Linked DNA regions of Homo sapiens: all the other regions are linked to region 2. The links are contacts of gene promoters, found by promoter capture Hi-C in blood cells and fetal thymus (Javierre and others, 2016). All regions are on one chromosome and are shown on one strand. Each heading gives the region's core, a stretch centred on a gene start or on the middle of the fragment in contact. The rest is flanking DNA. Distances are from core to core; before and after follow the strand shown.

What was found. The method cuts DNA at HindIII sites, captures the fragments that hold promoters and counts their contacts. A CHiCAGO score of 5 or more calls a contact.
Region 1: the fragment with the promoter of MCM7 here is called in contact with a fragment that was not itself captured in region 2 in 1 of 17 cell types (total B cells); the score reaches 6.2 in total B cells.
Region 3: a contact is called between the fragment with the promoter of ZKSCAN1 here and a fragment that was not itself captured in region 2, in 1 of 17 cell types (non-activated CD4 T cells). The highest score is 5.1, in non-activated CD4 T cells.

The regions. Positions count from the first base shown.
Region 1 is chr7:100,100,018-100,102,717 of GRCh38, forward strand. MCM7 (minichromosome maintenance complex component 7) reads right to left here and starts at 1,380. Exons shown (of 15, transcript NM_005916.5): 1 at 1,247-1,380; 2 at 1-76. The coding sequence starts at 1,277. It overlaps AP4M1 (adaptor related protein complex 4 subunit mu 1), which reads left to right and starts at 1,626. Exons shown (of 15, transcript NM_004722.4): 1 at 1,626-1,755; 2 at 1,863-1,951; 3 at 2,658-2,700. The coding sequence starts at 1,698. RefSeq lists enhancers at 575-734, 1,080-1,632, 1,655-1,704 and a silencer at 845-944. The HindIII fragment of the contact is 6,263 bases long and covers 1-2,700 here.
Region 2 is chr7:100,394,954-100,397,653 of GRCh38, forward strand. The region is part of intron 3 of PILRA (paired immunoglobin like type 2 receptor alpha); the gene reads left to right. Among named protein-coding and RNA genes, the nearest start is that of PILRA, 23 kb to the left of the region's middle. RefSeq lists an enhancer at 1,902-1,951. The HindIII fragment of the contact is 3,900 bases long and covers 1-2,700 here.
Region 3 is chr7:100,014,344-100,017,043 of GRCh38, forward strand. It overlaps ZKSCAN1 (zinc finger with KRAB and SCAN domains 1), which reads left to right and starts at 1,253. Exons shown (of 6, transcript NM_003439.4): 1 at 1,253-1,383. RefSeq lists a silencer at 1,339-1,508. The HindIII fragment of the contact is 19,683 bases long and covers 1-2,700 here.

The DNA.
Region 1 (2,700 bases), core at 130-2,629, 290 kb before region 2:
TGGTTCCCATACTTGAACTGCTTCTTCCCGAGTTCATCATCCTGGTAGAACTCTTGTAAGAACTTCTTAACCTTTTCTGTAACATGAAATGTAAAACCGTAAGACACAAACTTTAAGACAAATCTTAGATACCCATTTTCGCTTAAAACACGACCTATGAACTAATTAATAATATGAGCATTTAAATAAACCTACCGAAGTCTCCCCAAAGTGGGCATAACTCTTTTTCACAAGTCTGTTTCTAACCAGCGAAGAATAAAGAGCCCGTGGCAGTGCACAGGGCCATCCAACATCTCCCCAGGGGAATTCCGGTCCCTACTTTAGTTTAAAATTCTAGCGCCCTTCCCCGTTGGCCCCTCACACTCCGGTCTCAAGGTTCTCAGCTTTCTTTCCACCCCTATGATCCCCCGCCTTCTTTGGGTCCCCTTAGCCCCTGATTTCACCGGGACCTCCGCCACCGCACCCCGCCACCGCACCCCACCCCCGCTCCCGCCATCGCTTCCGCTCTTAGTAAACAAAGAAGCACATGGGCCCGGATTCCAGCCGCTTCACAGCTCGGGATTCCTCCGCCCAGGGCGGGAGCCAGTCCAGCCATTGGCCATCACACCCAGAGACACCGCGATCCCAGCCCACTGCCGCCTTTCCCGGGCCCGAGCGAAGCTCCGGATCCCAGGCACGCCCCCCCGGGCCGCAGCTCTCTCCGCGGCCGCCGCGCGGAAGGACACTGTTTACACGACACTCCCTCCAGCCTCCTCGCGCCACTTCCGCCCGGCTCCACTTCCGCTCGGAGGGCGGCCTCAAACGGCCAATCCCGGCGCGCAGCGGCCCCGGCCTGCCCGCCCCCGGGGCCTACGCGCGCCTGGGGAGGGCGCGGGAACCTGGGAATGCCCAAAAGCGCGAAGGAAAGCGGGCACGGGAGCCCAGAGCCCTTAAGACTCTCCTGAGGTCCTGGGCGCGACTTTTCCCTGTGCAGCCCCCAGCCGGGTTAGCGCGCCCCCAAGCCCCCAACCCCACGACCCTAACACCTTTACCAGGTGGGATTACTAGCTTTTCTTCAACATCGATGGCCCCCCGCACGCTTCCCAGGCCCCGTGGGCCTTAGCCAGGCCGCAGCTCGACCCTGCCTCTGGCCTCGCGCACCCCAGAACCCGCCGACCCCGGTCCCCCAAGACCCCAGCTCACACCAACAGGTGTTCCCCGGGAGGCTCCCCGCGCAGGACGCCCTCCCGGGCTCGTAGACCCGTACCCTTCTCTAGCGCGTAGTCCTTCAGTGCCATCGCTGCCGAGGGCCGTGCGGCCGCGCTTGGCGGGCTCAGAGGTCTTGCTCCTGGGGAAGCTGAGAATCTCCGCGCGGTGGACTGTGGCCGGCCAACCGAAATTGGCGCGAAACGTCGCCCCCCACGTGACCGGCGCCACTGCGTGCGGGCCAATCGGACAAGGCGGCCTTCTTCACCTCCCGCTAGCCGCAAGCCAATCACCGTGCGGGCCTAGAATGAGTGACGGGGAGGCGGTGCGGGCGTCGGAAGGGAATCTCCGGGCGGGGTAGTGCAGGCGCCGGGTTTCCCGCGGTCCGAGCTGGCGCGGGCGGAGGAGAATCGCTCTTAAAGGGCCAGCGCACACGCGTTCTTTTGTTCCGGGGCCGCAGGGCGGGGCAGGCCCGACTTTCGCCGTCTTCTTGTCTACTCTCCAGAACGGCCATGATTTCCCAATTCTTCATTCTGTCCTCCAAGGGGGACCCGCTCATCTACAAAGACTGTATCCTAGACCCTTGGGGCTGGGAAGGGGCGGAGGGGCCGGGCGGGAGGGGCGCCCAGGGCCAGCCTGTGTCGCAGGATCCTTCACTGAGTCCTTCCACCCGCCAGTCCGCGGGGACAGTGGCGGCCGGGATGTGGCCGAGCTCTTCTACCGGAAGCTGACGGGACTGCCAGGAGACGAGTCCCCGGTTGTCATGGTAACCAGTGGCGGGAGGCGGGTGAGGAGCGGGGTCCCGTCGGGCCGGGTGGGCGCCAGCTCCCTCCCAGGACTGGTTCATTGGTAGATTCCACTTGGGGGGTGCATTCCGCCAAATAAAGCTAACGTGAGGCCCGGCGCGGTGGCTCACGCCTGTAATCCCAGCACTTTGGGAGACCGAGGCGGGCGGATCACCTGAGGTCAGGAGTTCGAAATCAGCCTGGCCAACATGGTGAAACTCCGCCTCTACTAAAAATACAAAAAAAAAAAAAACATAGCTGGGCGTGGTGGCGGGCGCCTGTAATCCCATCTACTCGGGAAGCTGAGGCTTGAGAATCGCTTGAATCCAAGAGGCAGAGGTTGCAGTGAGCCGAGATCCGGACACCGCACTCCAGCCTGGGAGACAGAGCGAGACTCCCTCTCGGGGTAGGTGGGGGTGGGGAAAAAAAAAAAAAGAGTCAATGGGCGCCAGCAACACACCAGGCCCAGCTCCCTGCGTGACTCCATCCTCAGCAACTCGGGGTAGTTAGTGTAATTAACCCCCTTTCCACATTGGGAAGCTGGGCCCAGGCATATGTCATGTATCTCCCAAAGGCACTGCTGTTGTGACTAGTAAGAGGCATCGGGATCCGAGCTCAGGTCTCCTGGGTTCTGATCACTCCACCTCCCTTTTTTTAACGCCTCTCTTCTCCCTGCCTGTGTCTCAGCATCACCATGGCCGTCATTTCATTCACATCAGACACAGCGGCC
Region 2 (2,700 bases), core at 59-2,558:
AAATAGACAAATAGGACAACATTAAACTTAAACATGTTTTTTCATTACAGGACACAATCAATAGAATCAAAAGGCAACCTATAGAATGGGGAAAATATTTGTAAATTATATATCTGATAAGGAGTGAAAATCTGAAATATATAAAAATTCCTATAATTCAACAACAAAAAAATCAACCCAATTTAAAAGTGGGCAGTGGATTTTAACAGACATTTCTCCAGAGATGATATATGCTATGGTCTGAAATGTGTCTCCTCAAATCATGTATTGGAAACTTAGTCCCCAGTGTGACAACTGGGAGGTAGTGTGTTTTGGGAGGTGCTTAGGTCATGACGGCTCTGCCAAACGGATTAATGCCATTATAAAAAGGGATTTCAGGAGTGGGTTCACTGTCTTCTAATCTTCTGCCATGTGAGGACACAGTAATCCTCCCCTCTGAAAGACACAGCAAAAAGCAAGATGCTGGCACCTTGATCTTGGATTTCCCAGCCTCCAGAACTGTGAGAAATAATTTTTGCTTTGCTTTGCTTTGTTTTACTTTTCAGCAACCTCTTGTCCAACAGAAGAAACAAATTTGTTTTTTTATAAATTATACAGGCTCAGATATTCTTATATACATTAGCAGCACAAAATAGACTAAGACAGTATACAAATCACCAACAAGCAGATGAAAATGGCCAACTAATCATCAGAGAAATGCAAATCAGAACTACAGAGAGCTATCTCCTTATACCCAGAAGGACAGCTACTATTTAAAAAGTGTGTAAATGACAAGTGTTGGGAAGAATGTGAAGAAATTGGGGCCCTTGCGCACTGTTGATGGGGGCTATAAAATAGTGCAAATGATACAGAAAAAAAGCATGGCCTTTCCTCAAAAATTTAAAAATAAAGGCCAGGAGTGGTGGCTCACACCTCAAATTCCAGCACTTTGGGAGGCTGAGGTGGCAGATCACCTGAGGCCAGGAGTTCGAGACCAGCTTGGCCAACATGGTGAAACACCATTTCCACTAAAAATACAAAATTAGCTGGGTGTGGTGGCGGGCACCTGTAATCCCAGCTACTCAGGAGGCTGAGGCAGGAGAATCACTTGAACCCGGGAGGCAGAGGTTGCAGTGAGCTGAGATTGTGCCACTGCACTCCAGCCTGGATGACAGAGCGAGACTTCATCTCAAAATAAATAAATAAATAAATAAATAAAGCTACCATACGATCCAGCAATCCCACTTTTGGGTACATACCAAACAGAACTGAAAAGAAAGGTCTTGAAGAGATATTGATACACCCATGTTGATAGCAACACTATTTTCAATGGCCAAGAGGTGGAAGCAACCCAGATGTCCATCAATGAATGAATGGATGAACAAAATGTGGTTTATACATATAATGGAATATTATTCAGTGTTTAAAAGAAATTCTGGGCCAGGTGCAGTGGCTCACACCTGTAATCCCAGCACTTTGGGAGGCCAAGGTGGGTGGATCACCTGAGGTCAGGAGTTCGAGACCAGCATGACCAACGTGGTGAAACCCTGTCTCTACTAAAAATACAAAATTACCCAGGCCTGGTGATGGGCGTCTGTAATCTCAGCTACTTGGGAGCTTGAGGCAGGAGAATCGCTTGAACCAGAGAGGCAGAGGTTACAGTGAGCCTAGATCACACCACTGCACTCCAGCCTGGGTGACAAGAGCGAAACTCTGTCTCAAAAAATAAAGAAAAAAAGAAATTCTGACACATACTACAGTATAAACGAAACTGGAAGACATCAAGCTAGGTGAAATAAGGCAGTCACAAAATGACAAATATTGTATGATTCCACTTTTCGGTGGTGCCTAGAGATATTAAATTAATAGGAACAGAAAGTAGAATGGTGGCTGTCAGAAACCGCAGGGAGGAGGGAGTAGGGGTTCTTTAAAACTGTTTCAGTTTTGCAAGATGAAAAGGTCCTGGAGATGTTTCACAACAGTGTGAATATACTTAACACTAATGAACTGTACACGTGGTTAAAAGTGAATTCTAGTGTTTTGTTTGTTTTTTTGTTTTTTTTTTACCGTAAGTAAAATAAAACATAACCTAAAGAGAGGGAAAAAACAGAGGGACAGAAGAGTGCTGGAAAGAAAGCTGCAGCATGGAAATGATACTAGCAATTAATATTTCAGAGTTCTCAGTCTAAACATTAAAAAAAAAAAAAAAAGTCCTGTAGAAGTGGAAGGGGAGGTCCCTGGAGTTGAGGGGTACCTCAAGGCCTGGGTTCAGAGGGTGTCTCTGTGGACATGGAGCCCTCCTGGGAGGAGGCTAGATGGTGGAGGGGATGTCTGTGGACCAGGAGCCCACTGCTTGGGAAACACTGCAAGGATGCCACGGGGATGGGAGGGGCAGGACACAATGGGAGAGGCAGCAGAGGATTCAGGGTGGGACCAGCCAGAGGGGAGGGGAAGCCTAGTGGTGGCAACAGAATTTGAACAGCCACAAACATGAGTCCCAAGCACGACGCTCCCAAGGCTGGAGGGCAGACATAGCCGCCACCCAGAAGGAAAGCACAGGCACGGTCTCCCTGAGGACCTGGAGGGAATGGGGGCGGGGTGCCAATGTCAAGGGAAGGGGAGGGGAGGGGAGAAGTGACTGGGCGAGGGCTCAGCGGTGGAGGGAGCCAGGTTGGGGCTGAGCAGAGAGCTCAAGAGAGAAAGAAACCAAGGGAGGGGGTC
Region 3 (2,700 bases), core at 3-2,502, 380 kb before region 2:
GTCTCCAACTCTTGGGCTCAAGAATCCTCCCGTCCCAGCCTCCCGAAGTGCTAAGATTACAGGCTTGAGTCATCGTGTCTGGCCCTGTCATTGCTTTTTAGTTTTCAAACATTTTTTAAAAAGTAAATCTGGCCGGGCACGGTGGCTCACGCCTGTAATTCCAGCACTTTGGGAGGCTGAGGCGGGTGGATCACAAGGTCAGTAGATCGAGACCATCCTGGCCAATATGGTGAAACCCTGTTCTCTACCAAAAATACAAAAATTAACCAGGCATGGTGGTGTGCGCCTGTAGTCCCAGGTACTCAGGAGGCTAAGGCAGGAGAATCGCTTGAACCTGGGAGGTGGAGGTTGCAGTGAGCCAAGATGGTGCCACTGCACTGCAGGCTGGGTGACAGAGCGAGACTCCATCTAAAAAAAAAAAGTAAATCTCTCCAAGCAGTAAGAGTCATGCAACCAAGCTACTGAGTTTCTCCCATGAACTTGTCTCGGAACATAGTGGAAAGTCACAACCATTAAAGCCTGTAGTCCCCCCCACCCTTGCACAACGTGGCCCCCTCTTATGCGTGCCTTACCCTGCAAGGCAAAGATGAAGGCTGTAACTGTGGTAGGTTGTGAAAGCACTTTGAAGGTAAAAGTGTCTGTTGTTACTCTGAAAACTCCTTTTAAACGGCTATAATAGCATATGCCACATGAGCAAAGCACAGAACCTTATAACTATGCTTGCTTGTGGAAAGACATCCCTTGTCCACGGGCCAAGTATTTGAAAATACCACTCCATATAGCTCCAGGGCCCTGAGAGAAGCTACCGTGGCAGCTTTGGGAAACCAGCCACCCTTGGCTTCACTTTGATCTTCCTCAGTCTACATCCTTGTTTCAGTTCCTTTGCCACAGACATACAATTACCAAGTACTATATTGCTTGATAATAACTATAATTACTACAAGGACTGCCTGAGATGAAAAAGACAGGTGAAATCGAACTTTCACATGGACTGGTGTCTGAGCTGGAGAGTCTGTTTGAGTTTGAGTAGGGGAAAGCCTGAAACCCCCCACCACCTGCTCCCGTTAGTCCCTGCATTAACTAGGGGCGGACTGGGACCTGATCCTCCAAGCTGGAGGCTTGAAAACTCAAGGGCAGGCGCCTGGTCCAGCGATTCGGAAACCGAGATGCAAAGTCCTCCCGCGCTCCTAGAGAGGACCCGGAAGCGCGGCGCGGTCCCGGAAGACGAGGTGGTGACACGCTTCCGGCCTTTGTGACTCATTGTGTCTGTGTCGAGGCGTCGGGAGGGCCTAAGTCCGTGTGCGGTGCCCTTCGGCCGGCCTGAGCCCCAGAGTCAGCTCCCCTTTCTCGCCCAGCGCCCCCAGGCCGCTCCCGGGGCTCACGGTGAGACTTGGGGCCGGCCTCTGGGGTGGGAGGGCGGGGCCGCAAGGGTGTGTGCGCGAGGGTGGGCTCCGCAGCTGCGGCCCTGGGACCCCCTCCAGGCGGCCCCGCTGTTGTGCGAAGAGAGTCCATGCCCCTGCCTCCTGGCCGGGCCCGGCCGTAGAAAGCGCCGTTCTTCCTGGGAGACGTCCCCGCCCCACCCCCAGGATCAGGCGGGGAGGGGGCGAGGGTTTCAGTGGCTGAGGGTGCCCGGAGACCCGGGGAGAAGCCGTCTGTGGGCCCCTCTCCCGCAGTGTCGTCATCGCCCTTTGACGTTTCTGCAAACGGGGTCGCGAGCGAACCGACCCCGGTCTTGATTTTTCTGCTCTCCCTTAGTCGCCATTTGCTTTGATTCCGGTGAGGTGTCTTTTTCCCCCCCCGGTTCCTTCGGGACCTCGAGGTGAAATGAGCGGAAGGATGAGAGATGGACACATTTTGAGGTGCCGCATACGTTTCCAGACCTGCCTTTCCTTCTCCCACCCTCATCACTGAGCGGTGATTAAAGAGTATTTGAAGCCTAGTCATAGTGGATAAATAGGTGATTGGGATCTAGTAGAGATTATATACACCCCACTCTTTCAGCTTGATGGAATGCTTTGAAGGCTTTGGAAAAGAGCTGTCCGGGACGTTAGGTGGATTTTTCAATTCTGGATAGTTGCTCTGTTTGACATGGAGTGGGGTGAGAAGTGAAGGGAATTTGTGGAAATTGCACTGTGTCACTAGGAGACTGATTAGCTGAGTGACCTTGGATAAGACGAGACACTCACCAAGTCTTAATTTCGTCATCAATAAAAACTAACTGGATTTTCTCAAAAGGCCCTTCCGACTTCGAAATGATTTGGTCAATGTAATTGAAGAATTAACTACAGTTTAGCTTGACACTCCTCCATCCCTCCCCTCCCTTTCCTGCAGTGCCCCCTGTACACAGTAAGATACTTTCATTATAGAGAGTGGCTGTTCCATGGCCTGGGACCAAAGAAAGCATTTATTGTACGGGCCAGTGCTAGGCGGATTGGAGGCGGTCAATAAATACTTGTTGAATTGAATTGTGGAGAATTCATTGTAACCACATCAGCAAAGCACTGTTAGTATATATGCTGAACAAATGTGGAGAAATCGCTGTTTTACATAGGAAACCATGGTGATTTGCCCCAGAATGTGTATCCAGGTTTGTATCTTCTCTGAATTAACATATAAGATTCTTGTTTATTATTTCAGGCAGTTTTCACCACTCTTAAAATACAAACGAGGAAGCTAGCTACTTAGTCTTTTGCTCATTCT